Linked DNA regions of Homo sapiens: region 1 is linked to region 2. The links are contacts of gene promoters, found by promoter capture Hi-C in blood cells and fetal thymus (Javierre and others, 2016). All regions are on one chromosome and are shown on one strand. The core of a region is centred on a gene start or on the middle of the fragment in contact, and the rest is flanking DNA. Distances in the headings are between cores, read along the strand shown.

Region 1 (6,283 bases), core at 2,937-5,436, 3.5 Mb before region 2:
AGAGGCTGTAGGAGGGTTCTTCCCCAAGGCTGAGGCCACCTCTCAGTCATTAAAGCTGAAACCCTCTCCTGGAAGCAGCTGATGGTATGTGCGTATCTCTGCCCTCCTAGCGCAGATGAAACCTCTCTTTCCCTGTCTGGAGCCCTTCAGGCCACAGTTGCATGGGAGGTAGAAACAGAGGGAAATGGGACAGTCCACCGCCCAACAAATGCAGGCTCTGCCCTACTGGAAGAGCACAGGCCATGTGCAAGAAATAGTTAAATCCACGTGGAGCTGGTGGGGACAGGCTGGGAAGACGAACCAGACTGCTGTCAACATGACTTTTATTATTTTAAGTTTTTTTTAGAGAGAGGAAGTCTTGCTATGTTGACTAGGCCAGTCTTGAACTCTTTTTATTCATTTATTTTATTTTTTATTTTATTTTATTTTGAGTTAGAGTCTCGCTCTTTCACCCAGGCTGGAGTGCAGTGGCGCAATCTCAGTTCACTGCAACCTCCACCTCCCAGGTTCAGGCGATTCTTGTGCCTCGGACTCCCAAGTAGCCGGGACTACAGGTGTGCACCATCATGCCTGGCTACTTTTGTATTTCTAGTAGAGACAGGGTTTTGCCATGTTGGCCAGGCTGGTCTTGAACTCCTGAGCTCAAGTGATCCACCCGCCTTGGCCTCCCAAACTGCTGGGATGACTGGTATGAGCCGCTGTGCCCGGCCTTTAATATTTTTATTTAGATTAGATTGACTTTTGTGCTGTGAAATGCATAGATCTTAAGCATACAATTTAATGAGTTTTGATAAACACACACCCAAACTCCTACAAAATAAAGAGCATTTCCATCAACCCCTCGAAGGTCTTTTTGTACCCATTTTCAAGAAATCAATCTCTGCCACCTATGCAACCATTGCTCTGCTGTCACTATAGATTAATTTGCATTTCCTAGAGCTTTATGTAAGTGAAATCATAAATGATGTACTGTTTCACTGTACACGACGTGAGATTCCACCCACGTCTGTGTAAGTGTCAGCATCCCATCCCTTTCTCTTGCTGTGTAGTGGTCCATTGCCTGGATAACCCACAGTTTATTCATCTCCTGTGGACACCTGGGCTGTTCCTAGTTTTTTACTATTGTATTGAGAGCATCTGTGGCATTTTCTTATGGACGTTGTTTTCATTTATTTTGGATAAATACTGAAGGCTGGGATTGTTCATAACCCAGCTTTTCAGATTCTGATAGAATGCGGTAATTTTCACTGCTTTGCTATACCCCTTGGGCCCTTCCTCTGCTAAAAATTATTTTGTCACTTATATGTGTTGTAGATATCTTTTTCTTGTTTGTAAGTTGTCCTTTTTTTCCCTTTAAGATCAAAGTTATCATTCACCATCCCAATTTGCACAATTCAGAATCTGCCCAAAAATCAAACAAGCAATCAGCAGTAATAAGACAGTCAAGACAGTCAGGCAAGAGGGCTGCTTTAAGGAGCCACATTTAAACATCAAAGGCATTCCTATTTAGCAGGAGCATGCAATTTTTAAAAAATGGAATTATCCCATTCACAGTATCTAGAAATAACCCCAGCAAGAAATATATGGGACCCAGGCTGGGCACAGTGTCTCTTGCATGTAATCCCAGCATTTTGGGAGGCCGAGGCAGGCAGATCTCTTGATGCGAGGAGTCGGAGACCAACCTGGGCAACATGGTGAAACCCTGCCTCTACTAAAAATACAAAAATTAGCCAGGCGTGGTAGCACACGCCTGTAATCCCAGCTACCTGGGTGGCTGAGGCAGGAGAATTGCTTGAACCTGGGAGGTGGAGGTTGCAGTGAGTCAAGATCGCACCACTGCACTCCAGTCTGGGCAATAAGAGTGAAACTGCTTCTCAAAAAAAAAAAAAATCTACTTATAATGGTATCAAAAAAAGAAAATACTTAGAAATGTGCTTAACAAAAGAGGTGTAAAACTTATGCTCTGAAAACTAAAAACCTTGTTGAAAGAAATTAAAGAAGACCTAAATAAATTGAAAGCCATTCCATGTTCATGGATTAGAAAACTTAACATTATTAAGATAACAATATCCCCCCAAATGATTTATTTCTATCAAATGCAATTTCTATCAAAATCCCAACTGGATTGTTTGCAGAAATTTACAGGCTGATTCTAAAACTCATGGAAATTCAACAGACCCAGAATAGCCAGAACAATCTTGAAAATAACAACTTTGAAGTCCTCATACGTCCCAATTTGAAAATTTAGTACACAGCTATAGTTATCAAGAGTGTGGCACAGGCATAAAGCTAGACATGTAGATTAAGGTACTAGAATTAGAAAACCACAAATAAGCCCTCATATTTATGGTCAATTGATTTTCCACAAGGGTGCCAAGACCTTTGGGAACAGAATAGTCTTTTCAACAAATGGCGTTTGGATGAATGAAAATCCACATGCAAAAGAATGAAGCTGGACCCCTCCTTCACATCATATACAAAATTGACTCAAAGTAGATCCAAAACTTAAATGTAAGAGCAAAAGCTATAAAACCCTTATAAGAAAACATTAGTGTAAATCTTTATGACCTTGAACTTGGCAATGGAGTCTTGAATATGACATCAAAAGCATAAGCAAAAAGGAAAAGTAGATACATTAGACTTGATCAATATTGAAACGTTTGCACTTCTAATGACAGTATTAAGAAAGCAAAGAAGGCCGGGCACGGTGGTTCACACCTGTAATCCCAGCACTTTGGGAGGCCAAGGCAGGCGGATCAAGAGGTCAAGAGATCGAGACCATCCTGGCCAACATGGTGAAACCCCGTCTCTACCAAAAATACAAAAATTAGTTGGGCGTGGTGGCACGCGCCTGTAGTCCCAGCTACTTGGGAGGCTGAGGCAGGAGAATCGCTTGAACCCGGGAGGTGGAGGTTGCCGTGGGCAGAGATCACACCACTGCACTCCATCCTGGTGACACAGTGAGACTCTGTCTCAAAAAAAAAAAAATGCGGTGGCTCACACCTGTAATCCCCACACTTTGGGAGGCTGAGGTGGGCGGGGCGGATCACCTGAGGTCAGGAATTCGAGACCAGCCTGGCCAACATGATGAAACCTCGTCTCTACTAAAAATGCAAAAATTAGCCGGGCGTGGTGATGTGCACCTGTAATCCCAGCTACTCGGGAGGCTGAGACAGGAGAATCGCTTGAACCGGGGAGGCGGAGGTTGCAGTGAGCAGAGATCACACCACTGCACTCCAGCCTGGGCGACAAAGACTCCATCTCAGTAAATAAATAAATAAATAAATAAATAAATAGCAAAGAGAAAAGGAAACGGAGAAAAGATTTCAAACCCTGTATCCAATGAGGGACTTTTTAATTTTTATTTTTTCTTCGAGATGGAATCTCGCTCTGTCGCCCAGGCTGGATTGCAGTGGCGTAAGTATGAGCCAGAAATAAACCAGCTCCACAATGACGCAAGCCCAGTTTCCAATAAATTCATCCCTAATTGGATCCAGGTGAACGCTCCTATCAGCACTGCAAAACGTCAAAGTCTCCTTACAAGCTTTCCTAGGCAATGTCAGTCAAAAACAACCAAGATACAAAAGCGCGAGAATTGACTAGAAAACGACAGAAATAAACAAACAAACAAAAACAATAAACCCAGATCCATAGAAGAGGCAGGAAGAGGAACTGCTTCTGGGGCAGGTGAATTTGACTACACAGCCTATGCCATGACTGCAATTTCTGCACTGGGACTGTCCTGTCGGGTTTGACATGTGAATCCCTGGAGAATGTTTGTAAAAACTCCAATGCCTCACCCCACCCTACCCCACCACCCCCAAAGCCTCGAATGCACTTGCTCAGGAATAGGTTCCCACATACAAATGTGGGTAGAACCCCAGCGCTGAGCAACCAACCCCAGCCCAGGCAGCTGGCTTCAGCCCACACCCGGCCGTCTGCAGCTGGGGCAGAGTCCCCTGCCTGGCCTGGAGTTTCCACGCAGTCATCGGACTGAGGATCACGCTAACCGGACTCAGTCCCGCATCCCTCCACACGGGGTCCCCTTGGCCTCGCCGCCGGTCCAGGTCTTGCATTTGTGAAAAGGCTGCACCCACTGCGCGGCTGCAGGGAGACGGGCAATCTTCAGGCCTTTGCGAGGCTCAGCTAAGCCCGGCGAACGTCGAGGATCGGCACCCGCGTGGGCTCCCCCAAGTGGCAGCTTGGAGCCAGGAAGACTAGCGCGAGGAACCCACGCCACAGAAGGCGGCGTGGGAGAGCGCGTCCACCGCCCGCCCTGAGGAAGCAGCCTCGGGGCGAACACCGGCTCCTCGCTGGACTCGCACAGCTGCTTCCCAGCCCGCCGCTCGCCTCCCACGGCCAGCCAGCACCATGGCAACCGCGGTCGCCTGGGTCCCCGCGCCGCCTACGCCCCACAGAGCCTGAGACCCGAGAAGGTGGAGTCCGAAGCCCGCCTGCACCCGCCCCCGTGGCCGAGGCCACGCCCCGTTGGGGGGCCCGTCTACCTAGGCCTCTCGGGATCCCGCTCACACCCTCATAGTATCGGGCAGCCGGGTACAGAGCACAAAAGTGCAGGAGCAAAAATGGAAAGAGCTTGGACGCTCGGTTGAGGCACCGCTGGGATTCGAACCCAGGATCTCCTGTTTACTAGACAGGCGCTTTAACCAACTAAGCCACGGCGCCACCCGTACAGGTACTTTCCTAAACTATTCTTCATTACTATTTACCATATGGGCCGCGCGCATGCGCACACATTCGGCCTGTTGTGGCGCACGCGTAGTGTAGCTTCCGATTCACACAGGCAGCTGAGACTGAGACCGGAAGCTTGGGCTGCACGGAGCGGGCGGAGCCTGGGAAGGCCAGACTTCCTGGTCACGGTAATGTCTCTTCCAACGTGGAGCCAGGACGCTCCGCCTTTGGGGAACGCTGGTGCAGGGCTTGGGACTCAGGGCAGTGCGGTCGAGCCCCTACCCACTCCGGAGAACCCCCGGCCCCGCCAGCGCGGCCGGGCTGCTGGCTCCCCTGGCGTCCGGTCGAGGCGCACACCCGCCTCGGTCCGACTGTGACCCCGGTGAGCTTCGGACCATTCTGCCCCGCGACCTCAGCCTGAGAAGACCCGGGGCCCTGCCAGCTCCCGGGACTATAACTTCAGTTGAGTCGCTACTTCCGCGGATCCTGAGCTGGGGGAAAGTCGAGGGGTCCGGAAGGCTCAGGAGGGATCGTGGACTTCAGGGTTCCCAGGCTGCTGGCGTGGAGCACCAACACCTTACATGGAGGGGTTTCTGCTGCCAGAGCAGGCAAGGCCCTCCCCTCCCTAGTTTCTCACTGACCCCTTCTGGGTGTCCTCACGCAACTACACCAGCCACTGGTCTCCGCACTTTCCAGAGGGCCTGTGGGCAACTACGAAGCCGAACACTGCCAACCCATCCACCCAGCATCCCTGCAGCATGCACAGAAAGGTTCACCCAGCATGGTGTGCAATAGGAAACTAAGCTCCTATCTCAGCCTATTTCTGGATTGATGCACGCTGTGCAAAATGCCGTGGCAGCAGGAAGAGGGCTGCACATAAGCAAGGGGTTCTGGAAATTAAGACGTCTAGAGGAGAAAGCGTGAGACATCCCGTGATGGCAATGCCACCGCCACCCCCTTGCCTAACCAAACCGTCCTCTGCTCCGGGCAAGTGGCCATCTGGGAGCATTAGCCAGGGAGGCACTCATTGTGTCTTGCCATCACGTCCACAGAGGGGGCCCCACACCTTGTCATACTCATTTGACAAACTCTCCAGAACTGCTGGTGCCAGCCCCCACAGGTCACCTTACAGGGCAACTCCAGACTCCACAATGTGAGTCTAATATGTGTTCCAAGAATCAAACAGGATGAGCACCAAGACATAAAGCTTAGAAATAGCAAGACTGCTTTTCAGATGCACATGCACGCTTGTTTTCCAAAGGAATTAGATTTATTCTGCATGAAAACGGAAAGTGTTCACTCCCCAAGCTGAGAGCTGAGGAGGTGGCACTGTGCTGAGTCCAGCCAGGGCTTGGGTCCTGCCCCAGTCTGACAGGCCTGCTGAGCCTGGGAGGGGCCCAAGAGAAAGCCCCTGCAAAGCCCCGAAACCTACATGCTAGGTAGCCTGTGCTGGAGTCACTCAAAGGGGCCTGTGGCTGTCAGTCATCCTTGCTTCCCCTTGGCGGCGGTGAGTTCTCCCTTTCCGATGATGATGATGACGATGAAGTATCTGCTGGCAAGCCCCTTGTATCTATCCGGCAGAACACGCATTGGG
Region 2 (3,561 bases), core at 1,062-3,561:
GTCAAGGTGGGGGTAGAACTGGATTTCCCACTACCTTGGGCCCATGAGGCTCATGGGACTTTGGAGAAGCCGCTCATTTTCACATTCTGTAATGTAAACAAGAATAATCTAGATTCATATATATTACCTCCTTTTATGTTGAGAACAACCCTATAGGATAAGTACTACTCTTGTTGCCATTTCCCAGATGAGGAAACTGAGGCACGGAGACGTGGAAGAACTTTCCCTAGGTCACTGTAAGCAGCATAAAGCATCGCTGTGTGCTGGGCCAGTGCCATTTCCGCGCCACCACCGAGACCCCACGGCACGCCTTGCTCACTGTGCAGGAGGCCGCAGTTGCCTTTAGGAGCATGAGGCACTGTGTGCTCCATCTCTGGGGTTCAGAGTGTGCGGTCATGTTATGCCTGCATTCGTATCAGAATGAGGCCCAGGAGGCTGATGGGTTGCAGATTTGCATGCAATGGCGCGATCTCGGCTCACTGCAACCTCCATCTGCCGGGTCCAAGCGGTTCTCCTGCCTCAACCTCCCGAGTAGCTGGGACTACAGGCTTGCACCAACCATGTCTGGCTCATTTTTCCATGTTTAGTGGAGATGGGGTTTCACCATGTTGCCCAGGCTGGTCTCAAAGTCCTGGCCTCAGGTGATCTGCCCGCCTCGGCCTCCCAAAGTGCTGGGATTACAGGTGTGAGCCACCGCGCTGGGCTGCATGAACCTCTTACATGCTTGCCTTCTCTGGAGGGCCTGGACTTTGAAGCTTCTTTCACTCCCAGCATCTTTCCCTACACAGGCCCTCTTCCCCACTATCTCTGGGGGAGGAGTCTGCAGGCCAGTTCTGCAATGTGCCGCCAGAGGGAGCTGCCCGCAGAGAAACGGGAGCGCCACACTCAGGCCCCAGGAAGGCAGCAAGCTGAGTTCCCCTGGCCTCAGTTCACTTTCCCTCTTGAAAGTCACCCAAACTCAAGCAAAAGCTCCGATTCAGGAATAAATGGGGTTGTTTTATCCCAGCCAAGGCCTGGGGAAGCTTGGTATTAAGAGCGTTTGTTCCATTCTTTTAAAAATGGAAAAGGGTCCGTCCTCTGGGTGCCCATGGCACCCTGGAAAGCAGGCAGAGTGCTGGTCACAGGCGGAGACTTTGAGATACCGAGACCGAGGCTGGAGTTTGGGCCCTGAAACTTTCTAACCAGGATGGCCTTGGGCAGAGCAGCCTGTGTTTAGAGCTTCCCATCTGTAATATAGCAGTGACAACCATGCCTGCTTTGCAGGGTTCCTGTTAGGATTAATTCTCTATAGAGCCCCCCAGAAGCCACTTTTGGATTTGAGATGGTTCAAGGCCAGACCTTGCATGACAAGAGTAGGGACAGCTTTCCACAGGCCTCAATAAAGTAGTATTCCCAGGCAGTTCTGCAACCCCAGCCTCATGCCCTTTGCACCTTCCTAAGAGGCTGCCTTGCCTCAGCTTTGGTCCCCATCCAAGACTCCTAAGAGCAAAGCCAGTTCTTTTCCTTTTTTTTCTTTCTTTAAGAGACGGTCTCACTCTGTCACCCAGGTTGAAGTGCAGTGGTGGGATCATAGTTCACTGCAGCCTCGAACTCCTGGGCTCAAGCAATCCTCCCGCTTCAGCCTCCCAAAATGCTGTAGGTCACAGGTATGACTCACCCACCCGGCCTAATTTTTATTATTATTTGTAGAGATGGGATGTCACTGTGTTGCCCACGCTCGAACTGCTGGGCTCAAGCAATCCTCCCTCCTCAGCCTCACTGGCAGCTGGGATTACGAGTCCCACCCAACCTGCTTCTCCTTTTGCAACCCCCAGACCCAGAGGCTCCAGAGCAGGCTCTGGAACAGAGGAAATCTGGCTCCGGCCCACACATTCACCAAATACTGACGCAGCACCCTTGACCTCCAGATGCCCCTGTGCTCTCTTCTGTGCCCAGGCTGCGGGGAGAGAGGGGTCCTCCAGGCCAAAGGGAGGGAGGTCTCCGGGAGGTCCCCGCGGTCCTGGAGGCAGGTGCGCGGGGCCCGGATGTGATCATGCGTGCGCGTGGGAGAAAGGCAGGGCTGGGCCTGCGGGAGCGCGGCCTTGCGGTTCCCAGGACTCTTCTCCGGGCGCCTCGTCTCCTTACGCCACCCGCAACCCAAGCCAGGGCCCCGGTGACAGCGGCGGGGTGGGCCAGGACCGGGGAGGGGGTGCCCAGCAGCGACCCCCGGCTCCCCCTAAGGCCGGGCGCAGCTCGGAGCCAGGAGCTGGCCCGGCGCGTGGCTTCCCGGAAGGCCCGGCGCAGCCGGAAGGTGGGACGGAGGGCGGGGCCAGCGCCGGGGCCGCCACCAAGGCCTGCGCGACCCTCCGCGGGGCTGGGGAGCTGGGCGGGGAGCCCGGGGCCTGCCAGGCCCGGGCTGCAGCCGCGTCTGATCGCCGAGCGCGCCGCGTAGACCTCCGCTCCCCCAGGTAAAGGAGCGCCCGGAGCCGGGGCGGGGCGCCTCCCAGGCCGCGCCCCGCGAGAGGAGGGGGCACCCCAAGAGCAGGCCTGGAGACCCGGGAGTGCCTTGGGGAGAGGGTCCCCGCCCTGCCGGGAGCCCGGCCCTCCCGGTGCCGGGGTGGACACTGTTAGTGTAGTCATTGTCCCTATGGAGAAACTGAGGCATGGAGAGGCTGAAGTCACACAAGTAAGCAGCAGAGCTGGGACTAGAGTCCCGGGCCCTGGCTCGCTGTCACCCAGGAGTGGCGTAGGCATGGGTGTGGTGGGTGGGGGTGGGGTGCGGGTGGTGGATGTGGTGGGAGTGGGTGAGGTTGGGTGGGGTGGGGATGTGGGTTTGGCGGGGGTGGGGTGCGGAATGTGATGGGTAGGGGTGGGGTAGAGTGGGGGTGGCTGGTGGGGCAGGGGCGGGGCTGGGGGTGGGGTGCTAGGTATTATAAATGTGAAGCGGATCCTGACAGGACACCTGTGGGGCAGCGGAGCTGGGCTGAGCCATATGGGAAGAAAATCTGGGCGCTAGTTTAGATTTGGTCAGGAAGGGTCGTTAATGCTTTAGGAGGTGAGATTAGTTTTGGGGATGGCAGGTAGTTTGTTGAGCTTTTGTTTAGACAGTCTTGCTCTGTTGTCCAGGCTGGAGTGCAATGGCGCGATCTCGGCTCACTGCAACCTCCACCTCCCTCGTTCAAGCAATTCCCCTGCCTCAGCCTCCCTAGTAGCTGGGATTACAGGCGACACCACCAAGCCTGGCTAATTTTTTTGTATTTTTAGTAGAGACGGAGTTTCACCATATCGGCCAGGCTAATCTCAAACTCCTGACCTTGCGATCCACCTGCCTCAGCCTTCTGCAATGCTGGGATTACAGACGTGAGCCACCCCGACCAATTTTTGTATTTTTTAGTAGAGACGGGGTTTCACCATCTTGGAATAGCACCTGTAGTTCCAGCTACTCGGGAGGCCGAGGCGGAAGAATTGCTTGAGGCCAGTTCCCGACCAGCCTAGGCAACACAGGGAGACTGCGTTTCTGGAAAAAACAACAACAACACCAGCAACAACAAAAAGCAGGAAGGAAGGGGAGAGGGAAAGAGA

The links. Contacts are between HindIII fragments. The CHiCAGO score rates a contact against its expected background, and 5 or more counts as called.
Region 1: a contact is called between a fragment that was not itself captured here and the fragment with the promoter of C19orf12 in region 2, in 1 of 17 cell types (activated CD4 T cells). The highest score is 5.1, in activated CD4 T cells.

The regions. Positions count from the first base shown.
Region 1 is chr19:33,175,457-33,181,739 of GRCh38, reverse strand. TRT-AGT1-3 (tRNA-Thr (anticodon AGT) 1-3) reads right to left here and starts at 4,683; the gene lies at 4,610-4,683. LOC124904691 (a long non-coding RNA gene) reads left to right here and starts at 4,862. Exons shown (of 2, transcript XR_007067228.1): 1 at 4,862-6,283. WDR88 (WD repeat domain 88) reads right to left here. Exons shown (of 11, transcript NM_173479.4): 11 at 5,941-6,283. The coding sequence ends at 6,168. RefSeq lists enhancers at 3,964-4,083, 4,094-4,153, 5,244-5,313, 5,026-5,790 and silencers at 4,324-4,683, 4,884-5,043. The HindIII fragment of the contact is 1,280 bases long and covers 3,547-4,826 here.
Region 2 is chr19:29,714,011-29,717,571 of GRCh38, reverse strand. It overlaps C19orf12 (chromosome 19 open reading frame 12), which reads left to right and starts at 2,311. Exons shown (of 3, transcript NM_031448.6): 1 at 2,311-2,447. RefSeq lists enhancers at 952-1,171, 1,717-1,816 and a silencer at 1,987-2,776. The HindIII fragment of the contact is 2,629 bases long and covers 1,025-3,561 here.